Linked DNA regions of Homo sapiens: region 1 is linked to region 2. Evidence: promoter capture Hi-C in 16 types of primary human blood cells and fetal thymus (Javierre and others, 2016). All regions are on one chromosome and are shown on one strand. Each heading gives the region's core, a stretch centred on a gene start or on the middle of the fragment in contact. The rest is flanking DNA. Distances are from core to core; before and after follow the strand shown. Region 1 overlaps AADACL2-AS1 (AADACL2 antisense RNA 1). Region 2 holds the start of P2RY14 (purinergic receptor P2Y14).

Evidence for each region. Contacts are between HindIII fragments. The CHiCAGO score rates a contact against its expected background, and 5 or more counts as called.
Region 1: a fragment that was not itself captured here is called in contact with the fragment with the promoter of P2RY14 in region 2 in 1 of 17 cell types (monocytes); the score reaches 5.1 in monocytes.

What each region holds. Positions count from the first base shown.
Region 1 is chr3:151,905,216-151,911,605 of GRCh38, forward strand. The region is part of intron 1 of AADACL2-AS1 (AADACL2 antisense RNA 1); the gene reads right to left. Among named protein-coding and RNA genes, the nearest start is that of AADACL2-AS1, 20 kb to the right of the region's middle. The HindIII fragment of the contact is 1,865 bases long and covers 3,546-5,410 here.
Region 2 is chr3:151,273,904-151,280,008 of GRCh38, forward strand. P2RY14 (purinergic receptor P2Y14) reads right to left here and starts at 4,639. Exons shown (of 3, transcript NM_014879.4): 1 at 4,384-4,639. The region is part of intron 16 of MED12L (mediator complex subunit 12L); the gene reads left to right. The HindIII fragment of the contact is 3,614 bases long and covers 1,670-5,283 here.

The sequences.
Region 1 (6,390 bases), core at 3,228-5,727, 630 kb after region 2:
ACAAATAGAAGCCTCCGGCCCCAGCTGTTGGTGTTAACAACTGAAGTCCAGAGGTTTTCTTCCTGCTTCACTCAGCAAGAAAAGGTCTGAGCACAAACAACTGTAGCTCAGTATTTGTCACCCTGGTACTATTGACACTGTAGGTCACATAATTCTTTATTGGTGGGCTGGAGGATATTCTGGGCATTGTTGTATATCTAGCAGCATCCCTGGCCTCTACCCACTACATGCTAAGAGCACCCCCTACTCCAGCTGTGACAACGAAAAATGTCTCCAGATATTGCCAAATTTCCCCTGGGATTAAACTGGTTCTAGCTGACGACCACTACTCTACCTATAAGATGCTATCTCAGGGAGTCTATTCTTTTAAGGAATCTCCCCTTTGTTTTTAAATATGATATCCCTGAATGCTAGAATCTTCCATAGGTGTCAAGTTAATCCTATTCCCCTAGCCTTTTGACTCACTCAACAAATAATCTATTAAACACATACTAAATAAAGACTTCATGCTGATTGATGAGACGATATGGAGAGGAATTAGGAACCACATCCTTAGAGCTTCATAGTTTCATAAAGAAGATAATACATGCAAAGAATTATATGGGCTATAAAAAAATAGATATTGACATATAATAGCAATAATACATGACTGAAAGTGAGACATGCCCCTCATATTACTAACTTCTTTAGAATGTTCCTAAGTCCAGCGTGGGTCAATGCACAGTTTTTATTTTATTTGCTGTTGGGATGATTAACACATAAACCTTGTGTTTTTCCTACATTTGCATCTTAAGATGTTCATCTTTAACCCTCTGGAAACTGGTCTCATTAATCCAAGTATTCCCTCACTGCTGTTACATATTGATTAGTAAAATAAAAAGATGTGGTTGTCTGAAGATCTACTTAAGGCTACAATGCTTCATATTTTAGTCTGGGGTCATTGGTTGTAAGTAACAGAGACTCACATAGAGCATATTAGGTAAAATCCAAAAACCTATTAAAAGAGTATAGGGTCTATTTTTCACTACAAATATAGATCTTTAAAATATAAAACAAAATCCTTTCATCTAGTATCAGGATTTTTTTTAACTGATGGTAAATGTTAATTACTGTAAGAAACTTCCATCTTTCATTTAATTTTTATCACTTTAGAAAATCTAATCAGTATCTTTACACTAATTTTACTTGTCTTGTTAGATGAGTTAGTAAGGCTGGTAAATAATTTATAATAACCAGGTCTTATTAAAAATCTAATCCCTTTAGGTATCTAAATTTCTTGTTTTTTCTCTTCTACCCTGGATGTCTGTATTTTGAAGAATTAGACTTTGGAAGTACAGTGGACATAAAACCACTCTTTTCCACTCTGCCTCACTCAACCTTAACAAATCTGCCCATGCCCTGTAATTAGAGATTCTGCTCCCAGATAAACTCCTAAATGAACAAGGATCACATGCTATGTCCTGAATGTAGATTTTCTTTCAAAATTCTTATGTTGCAACCTAATACTCAGTGTGGTACTATTAAGAAGTAGGGCCTTTATGAAGTGATTAGGATAAAATTGATAATCTTATAAAAGAAGGTGGAGGAAGCCTCTAGCCTCTTCTGCCATTGGCATAATCTATAAAGAATGAGCCTTCACTGGACACCGAATCTTAATTTTGAGCTTCCCAGACTCCACAACTATGAGCAATACATTTCTGTTGTTTATAAATTATTCTAAGGTATTTTGTTGTAGCAGCCTGATCAGACTAAGCTACCACACAATCCATCTCTTTAGCCACAGCAGATAGAATAGAAGGAGGGTTTAATACCAGACCAATAATAGGGCAATTAATTAGTTTCTTTCTCAAAGGAAGTTCTTGAAGATTAAATGAGGATGATCCCTTATTTTCTGCTACGTAATGAGCAAAGAAGATGTCAATCTAAAGGATAGAGCAAAATAAGAGACTTCTTAGGGGACCAGACATACACTCCTGGAAGTTTGAATGTATATGTAAATGTAGTGACTCAAACTGTTTCTTACCCGGAAGACTGAGAAGACTAAAAGCTTGCTAGATTACTCCATATCAGCAAATATATAAGAAGCAAAAGCAATGTAACTTTTATTAGCCTGGCAAAGACATGCAAGTTTTTCATTGATCAAGGGGAATTAGGCTTGAACCATTTTACTAGTCCTCAGTTCAGAGACCCATCACCTAAGTAAGATGATCATAGAAGCACAAGTTGGAGCTGCTGAGTGGCTCAAAAACGTCTGCTTGAAAACACAAGACCCAGATAACTCTGCATCAAGGAGACTTCCTACAGGTCCTCCAAGGAACTCATACGTGTTGCCCATGCAGGCCACTGTAAGGAGACTTGTTACCTACATGACGTCAAAGACCAGGGACTACAGCAACATGAATCTGACCTTAGAGGAATCTGAGAGCAGAAGAGAAAGGAGGGTATAATCTTAAGGCAGAAAAGGCTTTGAATTAGAATTTTCAGTGAAGTTTTTCTAATAACTGAATATGACCACACTTATCCACATGATTGTGGAGACTGGCAGATATCAGAAGACTTACCCAAAGGTGTAATTTCCAACATGTCCCAGCTAGTAATTTCAAATGGGAGCAGCCTGAAAGCTGAGTTTAGACAATTTTGACTTCAATAACTCCTTAGAATTGTGCATTAGAAGGAGACAAAATAGGGATCTACCTGACAGGGATGCAACAGCCTCTAAGACTGGGATGGGTTGTTGGAAAAAAGAATAGTATTAAATACAATTATAAGACACTAGATCATTTATAAAGTATGGTTAAAAAATCATGATACCATACGAAAGACCTTGTAATCATCACAGAACTGACTTTTGGAGTCCAAATGACTACTGAAAAATCTAGAAATAAAATAGATATTGACTATTATATACTAAACAAATGGCCTAAGTCCGACCGATATACCTTGTTGTTAGTATGCCCTGGGCTTTCTAGTAGAGACAGTAGTTATTGTTAGTTTCAAAGAATGGCTATTAGGAGGCCAGAACAGGTATGAAGAATTTAGTATTCATTTGTTCAGAATAATTTTTTCCTATCCTAAAACAATGGATTGGGGTTTCTCCAGATACCATTTACTACCAGTGACTGATTTACAAGTGTTAGAATATTTAGATAATGTGATTGTATTTGGGAAGACTTTGGAGAAAAAAAAAAAACTAAATCCTTAGAGTGACAGACTATCTCAATGAGTCAGAATTGAATATGTTCCCTAAGAAGTAGGGTTCTGTTCTGTTGTGCCTGCGCCTATTCGTCTGCTAACTTTACAGTAGATATAGTTTCTCATCAGAGCAACTGTTGTCCTTATCTGCTGGCCTCCTTTCAGGAGATTTAGAGAAGTAAAGATGCTCTGAAAGTTTAGCTGGTGTTTCATGCTGTCAGTGAAAGATTACACCTGGATCCTCATTCATTTGACTTGTAAGCATTTGGTTAGCACAAAGCTCCCTCCCATGTGTTCAAAGATGCCCATAGTGGCTGTGGGAGAGAGACGAGTGACCCTATCACCTCCAGGGAAGCTTGGAGTAGGTAGTCTAAACCCTCAACCAGGTGTTCTCCCCCTTAGCTGACTATTAGAACAACCTGGTGAGGTATTTTTTTTTTAATTCAGAAATTCCAATTCAAGTAATCGATTTTCCTTTTAAGGCTTCCCCAGGTGACTCTAATATTTAGTGAGATTAAGCATGTTTGTCTTAATCAAACATCTCAATTTAAATTCTGCTGACTTTAATAACCATTGCACATCACACATTGATGGTGGCTCAGAAGTTGAAAGAGTGGTAATATACTTTTAAAAATTTAATAATTGGAGAATGGAAACTCTGGCATTTGCTAGTCCTTGACTAAAAGCTCAACCTCTTATTCACAAAGTAGACTTTTTATCGAAGAGGTGGGCTACATGAATAAATTTAAGGTGTATGTGTTTGAAAGACCATTTTAAGAGTTGACCAGTAACAACACTCTTACTTCTTATTTATGTCCTAACTGTTCTAAATTGGGTGGGACAGTACTACAAGGTTCACTGGCTATGAGAGTTGTTGCTGGCCAAGGTTAAACCAGAGAAGGCAAATGCTCTGTTAGGCAGGTATCATCCTCAGACACTGATACCCTCTTTAGTGAAGTAGTAAAATCTATTTGGGATGATAACTGAAAGAGCCTCACACAGTTGGGGTGGACAGAGACATGATTGATAATCTAGTGCTTCCACCAGAGATTCTACTAACAGCAACTGAGAATTAAGCAACTTGAAATCTAGCCTCCTTCTAGGTGGAAATGAAGGACTGATAATAGGGCCTTTGAGGCAGATTTGGAGGTATGGATCAGAGTGGAGCGAGAAAGGTAAGCATTCTAGCAAACTGTATCTACATCTTCCCCAAAAGTAGGAGAACCTTATTCAGAGCGTGAAATAAATGATCACCAATTAATGGTATATGATATAGTGTCATCATGCCCAAGGCATTAGTTATGGAAGCAGTTGGTCTTGGCCAGAAATACTGCTCCATTGTGCTGAGAATGAAGCATAATAATTTCCTCTAGGGAGGAAACATGCCAGAATCAATCATATTGTAGGATACAGCAGCTAATGTTCACACAAAATGTGACTATTTTCTCAGAGAAAAATATTATCCAGCAAATCAGCGTATCTGGGAATGACTCAGCCATTACACTCTATAATCAGTATGCATTGACTTTCCTGTGTTTAGAATCAGAGAGACAAAATCTGGACAACTTTCTCCAAGTTATGAATCAGTTTATAATTTCTATGCCCAGATAATTCCAACCTGAAATTTTCCACTTGTTTTCTTTCCAACCAAAGCAATTTTATTTTATTTTTAGTCAATCTGGAAATATTTTTATCAATTAATCTCCACCAAGTATAAACTTGGTGGAGATCAAAAGTTCCTATCATTCCATAGGAGGTCCATGCCAAAGAGACTTAACAAGTTTATTAATCACATGGGAACTCTCCTAGGAGGCAGAAAATACAATAGGTTTTCAAGTCAGGGCATCCAATGTCACTAAGAGTGTTGCTACTAGATTTCCTCTTTGACTCTTAATGGAATTACCAGAGCCTTATGCCCCTCCATGGCTGTTTGTAGGCTGCTTCTCCTAAGTTGCAGGAGAAGCTATAAGGGGTTTGTCTACCATCTTTTATGTTGATTTATCACAGCAATTATATAGAAAAACATTAAAGATGCCCTGTTACAAAGCCTGTAGAATTTAGTTTCAAATAAGCATAAAATACTTGATAGGTAAAATGGAATCCCATGTCTGAAAGTATATCAACTGGGTTTTCATCTTGCATATATGGTGGAGCCAGAGACCCAGAGACGAGGAGTGGAGCTATCAAGCAGTTCTTAAAAACCATTTGTCAATCAGGAAGCTTCACAGAAGAAGCTCTGCAACCCCACTCCCCTGACTCCCTACCCACAAACTCCCAAAATTTACATAAAACTCATGACTCAATGGTCCAAATGAGGGCAATAAGAGTTCCCATTTTCTTCTCCATTAGCAAGGAAGAGGAGAAAGAAGGTGTTGTCCTCTCCTTAAGAGTAGTTCCAGTGTATCCTCTACTTTGAGTAAAGGTGAGAAACATACTATCATAACACCGAGATGTCATGAATGCTCCTCTAAAGACCTTATTCTCCAAGCAGAAGAGTTGAAGCCCACTGGATCAACCCACTGCATGCAGGACAACAATGAGAAATGCATCATGAGAAAAAAGTTGGCTTCTCATGTAGAAGGAATCTGGATATTCACCCAACATCATGGTGGCAGCAAGAGTTCTTTGTGCCATCTCACGTTTCCATTCTGCCTGGCATGCTATTCATGAGCACTGGTTCTGTGTAAGCAATGGTTTCAGACATTGGTGATGAGTAGATAAATACTCGTTAAGTCCCTGACTACTAGTGGATCACATTATAGAGAGGGAAGAAGTAAAAGTTATTATAAAATGTGCTATACCAGCTATAGCAGAGGTATTGAAAAGACACTAAAGAGAGCAGAGAAAAAGGGAGATTTAACTGTATATGGGAAAGAGGTAGAAAGGTTTTACAGGGAATGCCTCATGATGTAGCTGTCACTTGAACTGAATCACAAAGGAACAATATTTCCCAGATATACAAACAGAATAATATTCTATGTCCAAAAACAAACAAGCAGGATTAATGTGTAGTAAAGAATTTGGCCTTGCCCTAAATCAGGTCTGGCTTTTGGGAGATAATCTGTTGTAGCTGATAGGAGTGTTTTTCTTGAGGATAGAAGTTGATTTCCATAGTCTTACAGCAGAAGCTGGCTACGTTAGGACCAATCATGTGATTTAGGATAGGGACTTTGGGCTCATGGTATCAGTCAACCCAGA
Region 2 (6,105 bases), core at 3,389-5,888:
TGAAAACTTCACTGTGTTATGAGGCTAAGACAGAGTCTTTTCTTTTGAGGGACTTTAAAGTCTAGGACTGGGTCTGGATTTTTTAAATCGTGTGGCCTCTAAAGCATTTTAAAGTTCTCACACTACTTGAACTAAACTGAGAAACTGGATTTGACTGGCAGTGTGCTAAAGTCGTGGCTCATGAAAGAAAATTGGTGCAGATATCTGATGAACCAACCCATATTCAGAAAAAAGGCCTCGCTGCCACAAAACCAAAAGATTAAGCAATTAATGTGCACTTTGTATTTCAAATTAAAATAATGTATTTAAGGTTTCTAAAAATAATTCCTACTTAACCTGTTATTTTGGTTAACCTGTATTTTTCCTTAACTAACTTGCCTCAGTGGTACCAGTTATAAGGACAGCTGCTGTGTATCAAACTCAGTGATAACAGGGACAGCTGGTCTGACATCTTAGGTTTTCTTTTTATCTCAGACCATATCCTCCCTCTTCCTTTTTTCACTTCTATAAAGGTAGTGCTTATAGGCATATTTATAGTGGGGAAAGAGGCAGTGAAATCCTTGTGCAGAAACATAGGTAGGCAGTTTTGGGGGCCAGGAGAGAAAGAACATTCAACACTAAAGGCCACCTCCTAGGACATTTAACTGAACTAAGTATCATTTTTCATATTCTGTTTTTGTCATCTGTACATGCAGGGCTATCAGCTCCCAGCTGGATTAAGGTTAGGGATTTGGATCTAGTCAGTAAATGACTTCTGATGAGATTAGAATCGTCTCCAAATCCCCATTAAGGAAATAAAAATGTAATCTTATAAGTTATAATATGTCCAAAGATTGTTGTCATAATTGAATGACTATCAATTCCTAGGAGTGATGATGTTAAGGTTTGTGGATATGTCTGTTAGAATGTAAGCCACCAGAGGCCCAGAACCTTTTCATCACACCATCTCTACCATTCCTAGAATGTTGGCTGCCTCATTGTAAGGAATCAGTGTTGAATGAATAAATGGCCAAAATATCCCTAGAGTGAGAAGGGGATTTCATTCATCATCTGTAGCAGGATGGAAATGTTCTTAGATGAAACCTTGTGTGAGCTCTCCTACCAACCTTTGACCTTAGGGCTCGACTCACTGGGAAGATCACATCAGCAACAGGTGAGTTCTTTCCAGCCAGGTGTCTCTCCCACTATAGAAGGTGGCACATTTCCCATCTGCTTGGTATAAATGGCTCCTAGAGTCTAGAGGCTATAAGTGATGTGATGAAAATAATTGCGTGTGTATGATCCTGGAGAGTATCGAGGATCAGATTTTTTTCCCCAAGTGATCACACCACAAGTGTACAGATCGCTTTGGGCCAACCTCAGAAGCCAACTAACTGATCTTTTCCTCTTTTCTTTGGTATCTTAACCTCAAAAGCAGATGTCATATAATTGGGTAGAAGCCAGCACCCGTCCCTGGCTGTTCTTTTATTTGAATGATGAGGGGTCAGAACATGATATCTAAGGCCTTTGATGCTTTTCAAAAACAACAGATGGGAGGTTTCAGTGAAAAATAAAAAGCTAGCAATTTAATTTATACCGAGTAAAGACAAAAATTTCAAAGGAATCTAATCAGATCTAAAAGCATATGACCAGTATTTCACTTTGACTTTAAAGAACAGGTGGATTGAGAAGCTTTGCTGTGGTAAACTTGGTGTTTCGGTGAATTAATGTAACCAAATGATTACTATAAAAATAGCATTCATTAATTACTAGATTTATCCTTTTTAAGGGTGCTAGGGAGGAAAAGAAAATTCCCTGTAAAGAAGAACCAGAAAATTTAGTAAAGAGGGTTTTGGAGACCTGATTCTCATGCTACTTAGGAAGCTGAGAATTTAAAATAGATTTTACATAGTTTGGTTGTAGGTATTTTTTCTCATTAAGATAGGATATTTTTACTGAAGTTGATTTATCTAGCTGTGCTGCTCAGACTTTTAGGAGGCAATGCATCTTTTAGTATTGCGGGGTGATGGTGGGGAGGCTATGGGTGTAGCACCAGACTTGAAGCTAATTTGAAATCCCAAGTAGTAGACAGCATCTGGCCAATGAAATGCCTTCTTAGCATCCAGTATGAACTGGCAGGGTGATCATATTGATGATCATAATTAATTTATTATACAATCAAGGACACTTTTGAGATAGAAAGGAGGCACTATTTTCAATTATGCCCAGACAACAGGTGAAAACTGGATCTGTCCCAGGACATGGGGTCACCCAAAACTGAATGTGCAACAGAATTACCTGGAGGGCTTGTTAAAAGAGATTGCTGGGCTCCACCCCCATTGTTTCTGATTCTGTAGGTTTGGGGTCAATAATTTGCATGTCTGACAAGCTCACTGGTGATGTTGATTCAGCTGGTATAGTATCTGCACTTTGAGATCCACTGCTCTATCCAAACAAACTTGGCACTCTTGTACTGATATAATTTTCAATTAAAGGAAACACTCCTTATTGTCCATCATCCTCCACTAGACAGCCTTCTGCAGGTGAGGATGCTCATGATGATGGCAGAATATGCTTGTGTTGGTGTCAGCCTACCTCCTGGACTGGTCTGTTTTTGGTATTCTAGAGACTGCTCACACTGGGAGGTTGAAACAGCTCACTTGTGACCGACCTAACTTCTAAGGATATCCTGGGGCCAAATGGAATAAACCTGTGACTTCTGAGTTCATAGAGCCTTAGGCTTAGGGAAGCCTCAACATCTAAATTCACTCAGAAGCACTTTATAGAGTGAACGTTCTTCTAGGGAGCCGTGTTCTTCTTCTGTTCAGCACTTTAGAAGCATCATAGGTGGCCTTGCTCAGGATAGTCACACCCTCTGTACCTGCTTCAACTGTGAAGTGGGCACCGTAATACTTCAGGAAATTATACTTCTTCCTCTGCACCCGGCCCACTTCCCCTGTGTCTTCATGCTTTGAGTACCTTGGAATCTCCCCACTGTTCTTTTGGTTTTATTTTTGTTTGTTTTTGTTTTTGAGACAGGGTCTCACTCTCTCGCCCAGACTGGAGTGCAGTGGCCCGATCTCAGCTCACCACAACCTCTGGCTCCCAGACTCAAGCGATTCTCCTGCCTCAGCCTCCTGAGTACCTGGGATTACAGGCATGCACCACTACCACCCAGCTAATTTTTGTATTTTTAGTGGAGATAGGGGTTTTACCACGTTGGCCAGGCTGGTCTTGAACTCCTGACCAGCCTCTCCTGAGGCCACTCACCTTGGCCTCACAAAGTGCTGGGATTACAGGTGTGAGCCACCATGCCTGGCCTCCTTGTTTTTTTTTTTTCCAGACATGACAATATAGAGTTCATTCATATATACCAATGTGTTAATTGTGTGCACACAATTGTATGCATGTTTGTATATATAGTATTCATAAATTTTACCGAAATATAAAATTCATTGCATGTTTACAAATCATAAAATATGCCATTTTGGTATTTTCCGAGTGCATTGTTTTCTTTTTAACTTAATGGCTAGGTTTTTTTTTAGTGCTAAAACTGATTATCAAGTTTGTATGTTTTAGAAAGATGAATATACAAACTATTTATTTTTTTACTAGTGTGATCTTTGATTCATTTTCTCCGTAGGATTGATTGTCCTTGGTTAACAAAGTATATGTAGACAAGATGGATTGCATGGGCTTGGTTGAATAAGCTGACATTGTGGGTCTGTGCTAATTCTCCTGAATGTAATTTAATTTATAATGTTTAAAGAATTGTAAGTAATTTAGCTGATTAGTCATAGACTATAAATAAGTAGCATATGAACTCAAATATTTGCTATGCCTAGGACAGATATTTCTGTGATTTACAATTTAAAGGCATTTTATTTTAGTAGGTGTTAATGGGGTTAACTTATCCTAATAATGACAAAGATAAAAACTTTTACCTATATAAGTGTATGTACAAGTAAATGCAACTATATATCTGTACACATATGCAATTGCAAACAAAGACATACTGACCTAAGTATTATGCTAATCGATTTTGTAGTTTTGAGAAGCAATTTTAATACACATTTACGAGCTTTTGAAATGTTTGTCCTGGATGAATACCTTTTAAACATTTTCCTTGATATCTCTTCATCACAGATATATTTTGACAGCCACGATTGGAAATCCTAAATCATAAATGATAATATTTCAGTATTGGATCCCCATATTAGCATGGGGAAATATATTAATATACCAATTATAGTTGTCAAACAAAAAGTAACCTACTGAGAAAAATGTGAGTGGCAATGGTTCAGTGTTCCTCAGCTTTGTTGCTGCCCAGCTCAGAAATCTTTTCTGTTCCCATGCACCATTCACATACATGCAAGTCATTTCATGGAAAAGCTGTTTTCTTACCTGCGTCTAGGCCTTCATCTGTGAGAGTCATGCTTCACTCATTTTGAAATACCTCTCATTGTAGGCTCCAAGGTAACACTGTTACAGAGTTCTTGCTCATCTTCAACTACGGATGAAAATCAGGAACTTGACAGAAACCACAAGATAGTGGGTCCCTCTGCTGCTGTTGTCAGATAGAATTTATTGAAGACTGGGACGTGGAAACAAAGAGGAAGGAAGAGACGTTTTAATCTCTGTGGGTGTTAGGCTGACTTCTGAGCTAGTTCCTTTCCTCCAGTAATGCAAAAACAGTCCTGCTTTCTTATTTCTCCTCCTACTTTTCCCCACATCCCTACATCATCTGATGCACAGCCAGGCAAAAACCTGTTTTCTTTTCTAACCTTTGCCATTGTCAAATTCAACATGTGGTATGAGGTGGAGAACTGATGTGTAAGATATGGTTCTTTCTGAAGCACCCTCAGAAAATTGTCAGCAGCTTCACAGTATAACGTGCAGAGATGGGTAGTTGGAGCTACCTGGAAATGCGGAATTAACAGAATAAAGAAGTATTTTGACACCAATGTCGACATATTCTAGATAAGAGGTGTTGCATTGTCATTTTTCCCACATTAATTTTCCCATATTTGAACATTACTGATAAATAGATCACAAGTAGGACTTCAGATAAACTCCTCGTGTGTTAACATTTTGGTGTTTGTGCTGTGTTACTATTTTGAAAGTCTTCATATTTTTAGTTCCTTTCAGGCTCTGTAATATAATTGGTGATGTCCTGCAGTGCTCCACTGTCTTTCCCATTGACTATTAGTGCCATTAGATTTGGAAGTTTTCAGAAGATGGCTACAAAGTCCTCTTCAAAGTGTATAACTCAGAACCAGAAAGAAAGAAGACAAGGGGCTGAAAAGCTTACTTTATAAGGTTCCTGCATTTTAAGTGTATTTACTTAGGCTGTTCCATTGCCAAATTATGGGTAACAACTAGTAAAGTTCAGCTTGCCTTAAAAACATAGCTATACATTTAGTTATAATAATTATAACTGGCTTATGACATGCCCGTTACTATTCTAGTTGCTTTATATGTACTTGCTACGTAGGAGGCAGTGTTCTGGACATTGGAGATGGAGTAGTGACTGACACATACCCAAACAGTTATTTCCCTCATGAAGAGTATTTTCTTACTTTCTGTCTCACAGACTTGCTAGTCACTGTTGATCCTTGGCAAAGACCTGTGAGACACAGAGCTTGTTTAGAGAAGTTCGCCATTTCTCCCTGCCAGAGGGACTCTTCTTCAGACCCCCAGCGGGCCCCAATAGTCCTCACTGATGCTTTGATTGAGGGGCTAAGAATACTGATGTGCATAGAGAGGCTTGTTAGCTTCAGCTGCAGTGAGATCTGGTAGGTAAATAAACTTAAGGACAAGTGGATGTGAGGAGGAGCCGCTAGAGCCTGGTTATTACCAGGGCACATTGCAGAGTCCTCCAGATGTAAACATTTTGCTGATTAAATTGATGATTTGGCAGGAACCGTATCTCTAAGGTGCGACTCTCAAGACTTCCCTGATTTATTGCAGGAGATGCTGTTTACTCTGACAGTCTCAAAAACACCCATTAATTGTTCCGGGTCCCTTTTGTGCTTCTTGACTTCCCCGTGGGGTGTTTCACATAGATGTTATTGAGTATGACTGGGGAGAACATGATAATTTGTTGCTTCTTGACTTCCCCGTGGG